Linked DNA regions of Homo sapiens: region 2 is linked to region 1. Evidence: promoter capture Hi-C in 16 types of primary human blood cells and fetal thymus (Javierre and others, 2016). All regions are on one chromosome and are shown on one strand. Each heading gives the region's core, a stretch centred on a gene start or on the middle of the fragment in contact. The rest is flanking DNA. Distances are from core to core; before and after follow the strand shown. Region 1 holds the start of PRC1-AS1 (PRC1 antisense RNA 1). Region 2 overlaps SLCO3A1 (solute carrier organic anion transporter family member 3A1).

The links. Contacts are between HindIII fragments. The CHiCAGO score rates a contact against its expected background, and 5 or more counts as called.
Region 2: a fragment that was not itself captured here is called in contact with the fragment with the promoter of PRC1-AS1 in region 1 in 1 of 17 cell types (endothelial precursors); the score reaches 6.7 in endothelial precursors.

The regions. Positions count from the first base shown.
Region 1 is chr15:90,964,308-90,969,609 of GRCh38, reverse strand. PRC1-AS1 (PRC1 antisense RNA 1) reads right to left here and starts at 3,241. Exons shown (of 4, transcript NR_051984.1): 1 at 2,932-3,241. It overlaps PRC1 (protein regulator of cytokinesis 1), which reads left to right. Exons shown (of 15, transcript NM_003981.4): 13 at 1-163; 14 at 490-531; 15 at 2,408-3,570. The coding sequence ends at 2,479. The HindIII fragment of the contact is 668 bases long and covers 2,786-3,453 here.
Region 2 is chr15:92,081,106-92,086,407 of GRCh38, reverse strand. The region is part of intron 2 of SLCO3A1 (solute carrier organic anion transporter family member 3A1); the gene reads right to left. Among named protein-coding and RNA genes, the nearest start is that of SLCO3A1, 230 kb to the right of the region's middle. RefSeq lists an enhancer at 4,012-4,061. The HindIII fragment of the contact is 984 bases long and covers 2,796-3,779 here.

The sequences.
Region 1 (5,302 bases), core at 1,992-4,491:
CACCTGTTCAGGGAAGAAAACACCCCGTACTGGCAGGCATGGAGCCAACAAGGAGAACCTGGAGCTCAACGGCAGCATCCTGAGTGGTGGGTACCCTGGCTCGGCCCCCCTCCAGCGCAACTTCAGCATTAATTCTGTTGCCAGCACCTATTCTGAGTTTGCGGTAATTCACCTTTTCTAATATCTACCAGTCTCTGGGGAGCACACAGTTGGGGCAGAGTGGGTATCTTCCCAGGGGCACCCAGGCTATTAGCTAGGGCAGCTACCTTGGAGGCTGAGAATCCCTTTCCTGCTTTGACCATGGCAGGGTGGGTGTGATTTAAGGGGGGGTTGTGTAGGAAGGAAGTTGGCAGCAGCAACTAGACATTTAACCTGGATCCTTCTGCTTAATACATACCATTCCCTGGCTGCAGGAGGCAACCCCTCTATCACTGTCCTGGTGCTCTCTTGGTGGAGTTCTTGGTAATTGTCTTAATTCTTTGTTCTTAGAAGGATCCGTCCCTCTCTGACAGTTCCACTGTTGGGCTTCAGGTCTGTATGGCAATCCCTGCATGTCCCTTTTCCAAACTGATCTGTCATCTGCTGGCTTCATTCATCTGGGCACAGGGCTACACTAACTAATAATCTCAGCAGTGTTACAAAGGAAGCAGGAATTCCTATCATGGACTCAAAAAAACACATCTGATTTACATTCACAACAGATTAATTAATAAAATTTGTTCAGACTTGAATTGGATTCTCAGCCCCTAAAGTCAGGCACAGTTTTAAATCACGTTTAACAGAAAACCTTGACCCTCCCCAATTGTGACATCAAAGGCCTGCAATAGCTGGAAAGAATAGAGGCCCCCAATCACATGGGGAAGGGAGCCCCAGCTGTGTGCTGCCTACAATGAGGCTCTTGGCCTGTGTGCTGATTATTTCCTGGAGTATATGCCTTCCTAACCCCTCAGGGCTTAACCGCCAGCTCTATTCTCAGCTAGCTAATGCTGATTTCCTCACCTTTGCCTCTTTCCATACATTGAGCTACTGAAGCATAGATGAAGCACTGGAAGCAAGTTTTTCCAGAATGCTCTTCACTTCCTAGTATCCTACTCTATATTTGCTAACACCTAACTACACTGCCTTTTACTTAATCTGTGATTTCTTCTCTCAATATTTTACTAGCAAGAGGAGAGGATGTTCCTCACCCTTGAGGGGATATTGAGTTAAACCCCTAGCCTGCCTCCCCTCTTAATTGCTGCAGGGATAGAGAATGGAACAGTTGGCCAAGGCTGCAGCTAGTTTTGATCACTGAAACTGGCTTCCTACTCCAGCATGTTTTTCAAATTACGTGGCTGGTGGTGCTTCTACCTTTAAAAGTGGGTGTGTGTCACTCTGGCTGATTGCTGGACAGAGGTCCAGCTTTCTCTTTTTCGCTTGTTCAACCAAGGCCCATTTTATCTGAGGCTTAAATGTACCTGCCTATCTGTGTGGCTAGTCCTAGGTAGGTTCGTCTGGTTTGGGTTGCTATGGCTGATAGACTCCACCAGGCAGCACCAAAGCCGGTAAACTAACCTCTGCTAATATCTGTCTTTCTCAATAGCCATTCATGCTTTATCTTTTGCTGCTCTACCATGTGCTCCAGCATGAGATCAAATCACCAGCAGGTTACAAGGCCTCAGCCCCAGGGATTGGTAGATATATGTTCTGGCCCATTGTTTTATAAAGGGCTCAAGAGACCAAAGCTTGTTGCCTACTTACCTTGACAACTCTAAAGTAGCTCTGTGAAGTAGAGTCATGCCTCGCTTAATGACAGGGATATGTTCTGAGAATGTGGGGCAATTTCATTGTGCACATATCAGAGTGTACTTAACAGTCCTAGACAGAACAGCCTACACACCTAAACTATATGGTATGGCGTTTTCCTCCTAGGCTACAAACCTGGGCAGCATGTTACAGAAAGAATACTGTAGGCAATTGTGGGTTTTTTTGATTCAGGCTATTCCTGGGATACTGTAGGCAATTGTAACGCAATGGTAAGTATTTGTGTATCTAAACATAGAAAAGGTACAGTAAAAATATGGTATAATCTTATGGGACCACCATAGTGTATGTGGCCTGTCGTTAACTGAAACATCATTATGCAGTGCATGACTGTATGAAGGATTTCTCTTCTGTGAGGTGTAACAGAATGGACTGGCTGAGGAAAAAGGGGTCACGGGCATGCGTGCACATGCACTCTGTCTGTGACTAATAGAATGGTGCTCAGAGTTCCTCACCTTTTACTCCTAACGCAGCCTATTGCAGGCTAGGGATCTCAGAGAAACTACCTTCAAGGGACCTTTTGCTGACACTTAACCAAACTTAGAAGGGTGGGCCATGTGTAAGAGAGGCAGTATGGCCACTGATGTTATTTATTTTTCAACAGCGAGAACTTTCAAAGGCTTCCAAATCTGATGCTACTTCTGGAATCCTCAATTCAACCAACATCCAGTCCTGAGAAGCCCTGATCAGTCAACCAGCTGTGGCTTCCTGTGCCTAGACTGGACCTAATTATATGGGGGTGACTTTAGTTTTTCTTCAGCTTAGGCGTGCTTGAAACCTTGGCCAGGTTCCATGACCATGGGCCTAACTTAAAGATGTGAATGAGTGTTACAGTTGAAAGCCCATCATAGGTTTAGTGGTCCTAGGAGACTTGGTTTTGACTTATATACATGAAAAGTTTATGGCAAGAAGTGCAAATTTTAGCATATGGGGCCTGACTTCTCTACCACATAATTCTACTTGCTGAAGCATGATCAAAGCTTGTTTTATTTCACCACTGTAGGAAAATGATTGACTATGCCCATCCCTGGGGGTAATTTTGGCATGTATACCTGTAACTAGTAATTAACATCTTTTTTGTTTAGGCATGTTCAATTAATGCTGTAGCTATCATAGCTTTGCTCTTACCTGAAGCCTTGTCCCCACCACACAGGACAGCCTTCCTCCTGAAGAGAATGTCTTTGTGTGTCCGAAGTTGAGATGGCCTGCCCTACTGCCAAAGAGGTGACAGGAAGGCTGGGAGCAGCTTTGTTAAATTGTGTTCAGTTCTGTTACACAGTGCATTGCCCTTTGTTGGGGGTATGCATGTATGAACACACATGCTTGTCGGAACGCTTTCTCGGCGTTTGTCCCTTGGCTCTCATCTCCCCCATTCCTGTGCCTACTTTGCCTGAGTTCTTCTACCCCCGCAGTTGCCAGCCACATTGGGAGTCTGTTTGTTCCAATGGGTTGAGCTGTCTTTGTCGTGGAGATCTGGAACTTTGCACATGTCACTACTGGGGAGGTGTTCCTGCTCTAGCTTCCACGATGAGGCGCCCTCTTTACCTATCCTCTCAATCACTACTCTTCTTGAAGCACTATTATTTATTCTTCCGCTGTCTGCCTGCAGCAGTACTACTGTCAACATAGTGTAAATGGTTCTCAAAAGCTTACCAGTGTGGACTTGGTGTTAGCCACGCTGTTTACTCATACAGTACGTGTCCTGTTTTTAAAATATACAATTATTCTTAAAAATAAATTAAAATCTGTATACTTACATTTCAAAAAGATATAGTGTGGTGTTTCCTTTTTTTCCCCAGTCACTTTTTAGTTGGTTGGTCTGTGTGTGAAAAACAAACACAAAAAACTAAAAGGACCTCCTGGAAATTTTTAGTCAGGAGTGTGATTTTTTTTTTTGAGTCTCACTCTGTCGCCCAGGCTGGAGTACAGTGGCACTATCTTGGTTCAGTGCAACTTCCACCTCCCAGGTTCAAGCGATTCTCCTGCCTCAGCCTCCCGATTTGCTGGGATTACAGGCACGCACCATCACACCTGGCTAATTTTTGTATTTTTAGTAGAGACAGGCTTTCACCATGTTGGCCAGGCTGGTCTTGAACTCCTGACCTCAGATGATCTGCCTGCCTCCCAAAGTGCTGGGATGACAGGCATGAGCCACAGCACCCGGCCGAGTGTGATTTTTAAAATATTCTCTGGTACATTTCTAAATTAAGAATATCTCTTACTCTAATTTTTTGGTGAGAAATATAAAACCTAACCCCTGATGTGTAGAGAGCAAAGGGAGTCCTAGGATGCTTCTGGCTTCAATGCCGTTTGTCTCAATATGGGGAGGCTGCCCAACTTCAACAGCGTTACTGAAGGAGGATGGACATAAACTGCACACATGTGAAGCGTAAGAGAAAAACCATCGCCACAGTCCAGTTAACCAAGTCTCTCTACCCCAGCAGTTCTTCCCACCCCTTTCTCACTCCTCCTTCCCAGCCTCACCCTGCCGAGCAACCACTGATTTTTTTTTTTTTTTTTTTTTTTTTTTTTGAGATGGAGTCTCGCTCTTGCCAGGCTGGAGTGCAGTGGCACAATCTCAGCTCACTGCAATCTCTGCCTCCCAGGTTCAAGGGATTCTCCTGCCTCAGCCTCCCGCGTAGCTGGGACTGCAGGCACGTGCCATCACGCCTGGTAAATTTTTGTATTTTTGGTACAGACAGACAGGGTTTCACTGTATTAGCTAGGATGGTCTCGATCTCCTGACCTCATGATCCGCCCACCTCGGCCTCCCAAAGTGCTAGGACTACAGGCATGAGCCACTGTACCTGGCCCACCGATTTGTTACTACAGATTAGTTTGCGTTTTCTACAGTTCGATGTAAGTAGAATCATACAGTATATATTTTTTTGGTCTGGTTCTTTCACTACTTTCAGATTTACCCATATTGTTGCTTATATCCATAATTCTTTTTTTTTTTTTTTTTTTTTTTTTTTTTTTTTTTTGCTTAGTATTCCATGGTGTTGATATACCAGTTTATTCGCCTGTTAGGTTTATTTTTCACATTTGGCTTTTCTCCAGTTTTTGGCTATTAAAAACAAGGCTGTTATAAACATTCATGTACAAGTCTTTGTATGGATATATTTTTTTTTCTGGATAAATACCTAGGAGTGAAATGGCTGGATCACATCTATGGTATGTGTACACTTAACTTTTTAAGAAATGCCAAACTGGGCCGGGCATGGTGGCTCACGCCTGTAATCCCAGCACTTTGGGAGGCTAAGGTGGGCAGATCACGAGGTCAGGAGTTCGAGACCAGCCTGGCCAACATGGTGAAACCCCATCTCTACTAAAAATACAAAAATTAGCTGGCTGTGGTGGCACACACCTGTAATCTCAGCTATTCAGGAGGCTGAGGAAGGAGAATTCCTTGAACTCAGGAGGCGGAAGTGGCAGTGAGCTGAGATTGCACCACTGCACTCTAGCCTGGGCAACAGAGCAAGACTCCATCTTAAAAAAG
Region 2 (5,302 bases), core at 2,038-4,537, 1.1 Mb before region 1:
GAAATCCAAATGAACAATAAGATATAAGAAAATGGTCAGTCTCATTAGAATTCAGAGAATTATAAATTTAGACCCCAATTAAATACGAGTGTGTTTCAGCTGGTTAAAGAGTCTGACACTACCAAGTGTTGGCAAGGATCTGAAGCTCTCCTACACTGCTGGTAGGAGTGTAAATTGGACAACACCTTGGCAAAACTTGGCAGTGTCTGAAAAAGTGAAGATAAACTAATCCAATGATGCACAATTCTGAGTCCTTGGTAAACACCCCACAGCAAGTGTGCTGACGGACTGCACATTCTTGGAGAAGCATCCAAGAATGCGCACACCAGCATTGTTTGTAAGATTTCCCAACTGGAAACTATCCCAAATGCCCAACCATGGTAGAACAGAAAAACATACTGTGATCTCCCGTACTCTGGAGTTACTCTACAGCAAAGAAAACAGATCATCTATAGGTGATCATCAATGACATGGTTGAAGTTGAAAGAACACGTCCTGGTGTGAGTCTACTTATGCAGGATTCCAAACAGCAAAGTTAACTCTTTAATGACAGGGAGTCAAACTATAAAGAACACCAGGGAAAGGACTATTACAGAAGTCAGGACTGTGGTTACTGTCGGGGGAAGGGAGGGTCCTTGGGGACAGGTGGGGAGGAGATTCTCCAATGCTAGTTTTGTGGTTGATTTGTTTATAGACTTCATGGGTATTTATTTCACAACAACGTGTAAGCTGTGTATCTACGTTTCAGGCAAGAAAACGTGATTTTAATATTTTTAATACACACGTATGCACATGCGTGATATAAGTACATACACACAAATGGCTATTTGAGTGCCTGCTGTGTGACGCCAGTTGGACTATGTGATTCACCAATGTTACCTCAGGATTACTCCCAACTAGGCAATGGGTTGGGTGCTACCATCCCAGTTTCATCCAAGAAGGCATGAGGCCCACTTAAGCAGCTCGCCCCGGGGCACTTGGCTTCCAGGCAGCAGCTTAACCACAATATGCCTACGCAAAACTGGGTCCCCAGTTAGCTCACGTGCAAATAGACAGGGTTGAAGAACAAAAACAACTAAACTTTGCTATTCAAAGGCAGCTCCTTGAATCGAGGAGTCCATTCAGATGCAGGCACACGGCTACTCTGAAATCAAAACTTACAGCAGGGAAGCCCAGTTGCCCTTCAGAGGGCAGGTGGGGTGGGATTCAGAGTGGGTTCTACAGCTGGACTGGATGTGCGTCCAAGTACTACCAACTTAACTGCCTGGAAACCTGGGGAGCCCCCTCAGCCTCTCTATGCTGGTTTGCTGCATCTGAAAAGTAGTGTGCTACTAAGACATTTTATAGGGCTGTGGTGAGTAATAAATGAAAGCAATGGTGGGGGCCCAGCCCTGGCACAGATGAAGCACTTCATAAACATCAGTTTCCACTGATGCTCCAAGAGGAAGACTCCATGGCACCCATTCTTGTTCTCCCTCCTTCCGCCTGGCCCTGCGGCTTCTGCAGGCTCACTGGAAGGCCTGCTCTTGGAAGAGATACTATCACTGGCTGGCTATGGTGGTGCATGCTGCATTGTTTGAGAAAAATGTTGACCCTTCCATGTGAACCTTTATTTTTCTCTTTGTCAAAGTGTAGCATGGGGCATGGCTCCTGCGTTGAACAGCCTGTGGGGCTGGGTGAGAGGAGCACAGGCTGCCCGAGGAGCTGCAGGCATCTGCTACCTGCTGGCATAAACTCTTTATGCCCCTGAGAGCAAAGCCAAACAGGCCATCCAGAAACCCAGGGACTGCTATCAGCTCCCCTACTCACTTTGCAATTAGATGCACCCATTCGTGTTTCTGACCCTCAAGGTCTCCTGGGGTGGAAAAGGACAGAGAGGTACTACTGACCTTGAGGGAGGATCGGTGTCAAGGCTCTGCTGTACTGGTGTGTCTGTGAGCATGGTACAAATGCTCCCTCGGCCTCAGTTTCCTCCTCTGTAAAATGGGATGACAACAATCCCTACCTCCTAAGGGGTTATTGAGGGTCAAATACGTAGTGCACAGAATGCTTCTGATCAATTCCTGGAACACAGACATTCTCAAAAACCATCAGCTGTTATTTGTTCTTCTTACTGGTGCCTCTAACAGCAGGATTTTCTTTTTTTATGACGTTTTAAATCACTTAGGTAAACTCTGCTTTTTTTAGAGAATGTGGAAAATACAGGATCATGTAAAGGATTAGCATCGTTCTCATATTTCCCTTTAGGCATTATTATATTTGTACTGTCTTTCTTCATATGCGTTTATCATTCCTGGAACCATGTAAGTTAATTTACAAACAAAACCCCTTTTCTTCATTTTAAAAGCAGCACATGCTCATTAAGGATGACTGAGGATAAACCAAGCGTAGAGAGGCAGAATAACACAGTGGCCAAGAACACAGACCCTAGAGCTGCATGGCCAGGGTCTGCAGTCACTGGCTGTGTGACCTTGACAAAGGTACTTACCTACTCTGGCCCTCCATACTCTCACCTGTGAGTGAGGTTAACAGTACCCACCTCGCAGGATTGTTTTGAGGTTTGGGTGATTAGTGCCTCACAAGGGCTTTCCACAGCGCCTGGCATACAGTAAGTGCTCAATAAATTTTAGCAATCATTATTACAAAGATGACAGCACAAATCACCATCTCTCACCACCCAGAAACACTGACATGCATTTAGATCTTCCCTTCTCGTCTGTTTCTATGCACAAGGCTTATTTCTTATGAGTAATTTTTAATAAATCCCAACACAGTTCTCCTAATGACAGAAAGCTTAGAGACAAATACGATTCTCTGAAGAACATACTTCTGAAGAATACAATTATCTATTGCAATAGAATTTCAGGTGCTGATAGAACGGAACTGCAAGGACCAGGCACTTCTCAGCTGTCCTTGGGAGAGTGGTGAAGGGAGAACCTACTGTACCCAGGAGTCACGCTGCCCTGCACTCAAACCTCTGCTCAGATCCCTTCCTGAACGTGGGAAGGGAGGGCACCTGAGGACAGTGAGATCTCACATGACAGTCAGTCCTGACTTCTTAGCAGTGACAGAGACAGCACCAAGCTAGCTGGGCAGCAGAAGGGCAGAGCTGAGGGTTCTGTACTTGACAAAATGAGAGATCCCTTTGGGGGAAGCCTGAGGTTTTCTTTAGAGGAATCTTGAGATTTGCTTGACTCAACTTCGAGGAAACAAGAAAACGGTCTCTCCTATAATATCTCGCAGGGCTGGTACACACGGGTGACGGCTTCTACCTCTTTACAAGGAAAGTGATCATTTCGTCTGATTATAAAAGTAATGCATTCAGCAGGGGGAAAACACAGTTTTCCTACCATCCAGAGGCAGTCATTTTCTTCAGCTCTTTCTCTGCCCCTTCTGATTTATTCAAGGTCAATCATTCTCACTATGCCTTGATAAGGTGAGTTTATGAGACTCTTTTTGTAGATGAGAATACAGAAGCGCAGAGAGATCAGTCAGCTGCACCAAGGTCACACAGCTTGTACATGGTGGAAGTGGATTTTAACTCAGGACTCCGGGACCTAGTTCCTAGAGAAAGAGCAGGTATCACGGCACAGTGGTGAAGGCGTGAGAATCAGCCAAGGCTGATTCCTACCAGGCTGGAATCCTGGTTACATTTCTCAATTTCTGGAAGATTCACTTCCCAACTCTGAGTCTGGGAAGAAGGGTTATCAGTCTTGTAGAACAGTGAGAATTATATGTAATGCATGCAAATCTTCTGATATCTGGCATGAATAGAAGCTTTCTAGAATTATCTTTGTGTTTCAGGAACAATGAGTCCAAGAATGGGGGCGTGCATGGCTGGTCTCCCTAGGCTGTTTCTTTGGCTGGACTTGGAGTAATTTTAACCCTAGATGGTTCTCGCAAGTGGGAGGAGTGAGGAGGAAACGCGGGTTGGCTGTGACTCTGCCCCACTAGAGGGCAGTGCTGACCTAGGAAAAAGAGCAATTCCAGGCTGCTTGAACATCCTTGGCCTCCACTTCCTAAATGCCTGTGAAACCCTCCGTCAGGGCTTTGCGTTTCTCATCACCCACTTGCCTTCGTCTCCTCAATTTATATAAATGTATTGCCACATCTTAAATCTGCAGGCTCAAAGTTCTCCCCTCAGAGGGAGCATTCTGCATCATATGTGCATGAATAAAACATGATCCATAAACAGCAGGAAACCTGCAATACACATTTATCTGGTGCCTGCTGCCAACAGCCTGCCAGCATTACATAACTGACCTTGCTTATGTCTGAGGAGGAGGTGAACAGGGAAGGAGACGGTGAGGAGGTGACCATTTATTGAGCACAAATTAGGTGTTAGACACTGTGTAATAGAATTATCTCCATCACAAAGTTTACAAACAAAACCAAACACTAATGTTACCAAATCCACACAGTACATGACAGAGCCAGAGCATATGTGCCCCTCCCCACATTACTGCACCTGTTGACCTCTTAGATCAGATACATCAATGGGGCTCAAACTGGGCTGCACATTGGATTCACCTCAGAAACTTGTAAAAAGAAAACACCAATCCCTAGGTCTCACTCCTGGAGATTGTGATGAAGCTGGTCTGGAAGACACACTAGGCAATGGGCTTTTCCCAAAGTCCCCAGGTGATTCTACCTGCAGACAGGTTGAGAATCCTGGACTAGAACCAGCCTCTGCCCTTGCTGCCCTTGACCAGACTTTCTCATTAAAAAGCACCATCAGTGGGCTGGGTGCAGTGGCTCACACCTGTAATCCCAGGACTTTGGGAGGCCGAGGTGGGCAGATCGCCTGAGGTCAGGAGTTCGGGACCAGCCTGGCCAACATGGTGAAAACCTTATCTCTACTAAAAATATAAAAGCCAGGCATGGTGGTGGGCACCTGTAATCCCAGCTACTAGGCAGGCTGAAGCAGGGAGAATTGCCTGAATCTGTGAGGTGGAGGTTGCAGTGAGCCAAGATCGCACCAGTGAGCCGAGATCACAACACTGCGCTCCAGCCTGGGCAATAGAGCGAGACTCTGTCTCAAAAAAAGGAGAAAAAGAAAAAAAAAAGCACCACTAGTGGTACCAGCACTGACCAAAGAAATAGCTGGTACCCAAAATGCATTTGGGAGGTAAAGAGTAGAATGATGGTTACCAGAGGCTGGGAAGGGGGCAGGGGAGGTGGGGATGGTTAATGGGTGCAAAAATATAGACAGGATGAATAAACTCTAGTATCTGATATTGCAACAGGGTGACTACAGTCAACAGTAATTTATTTTACATTTAAAAATAACTGAAAGAGTATC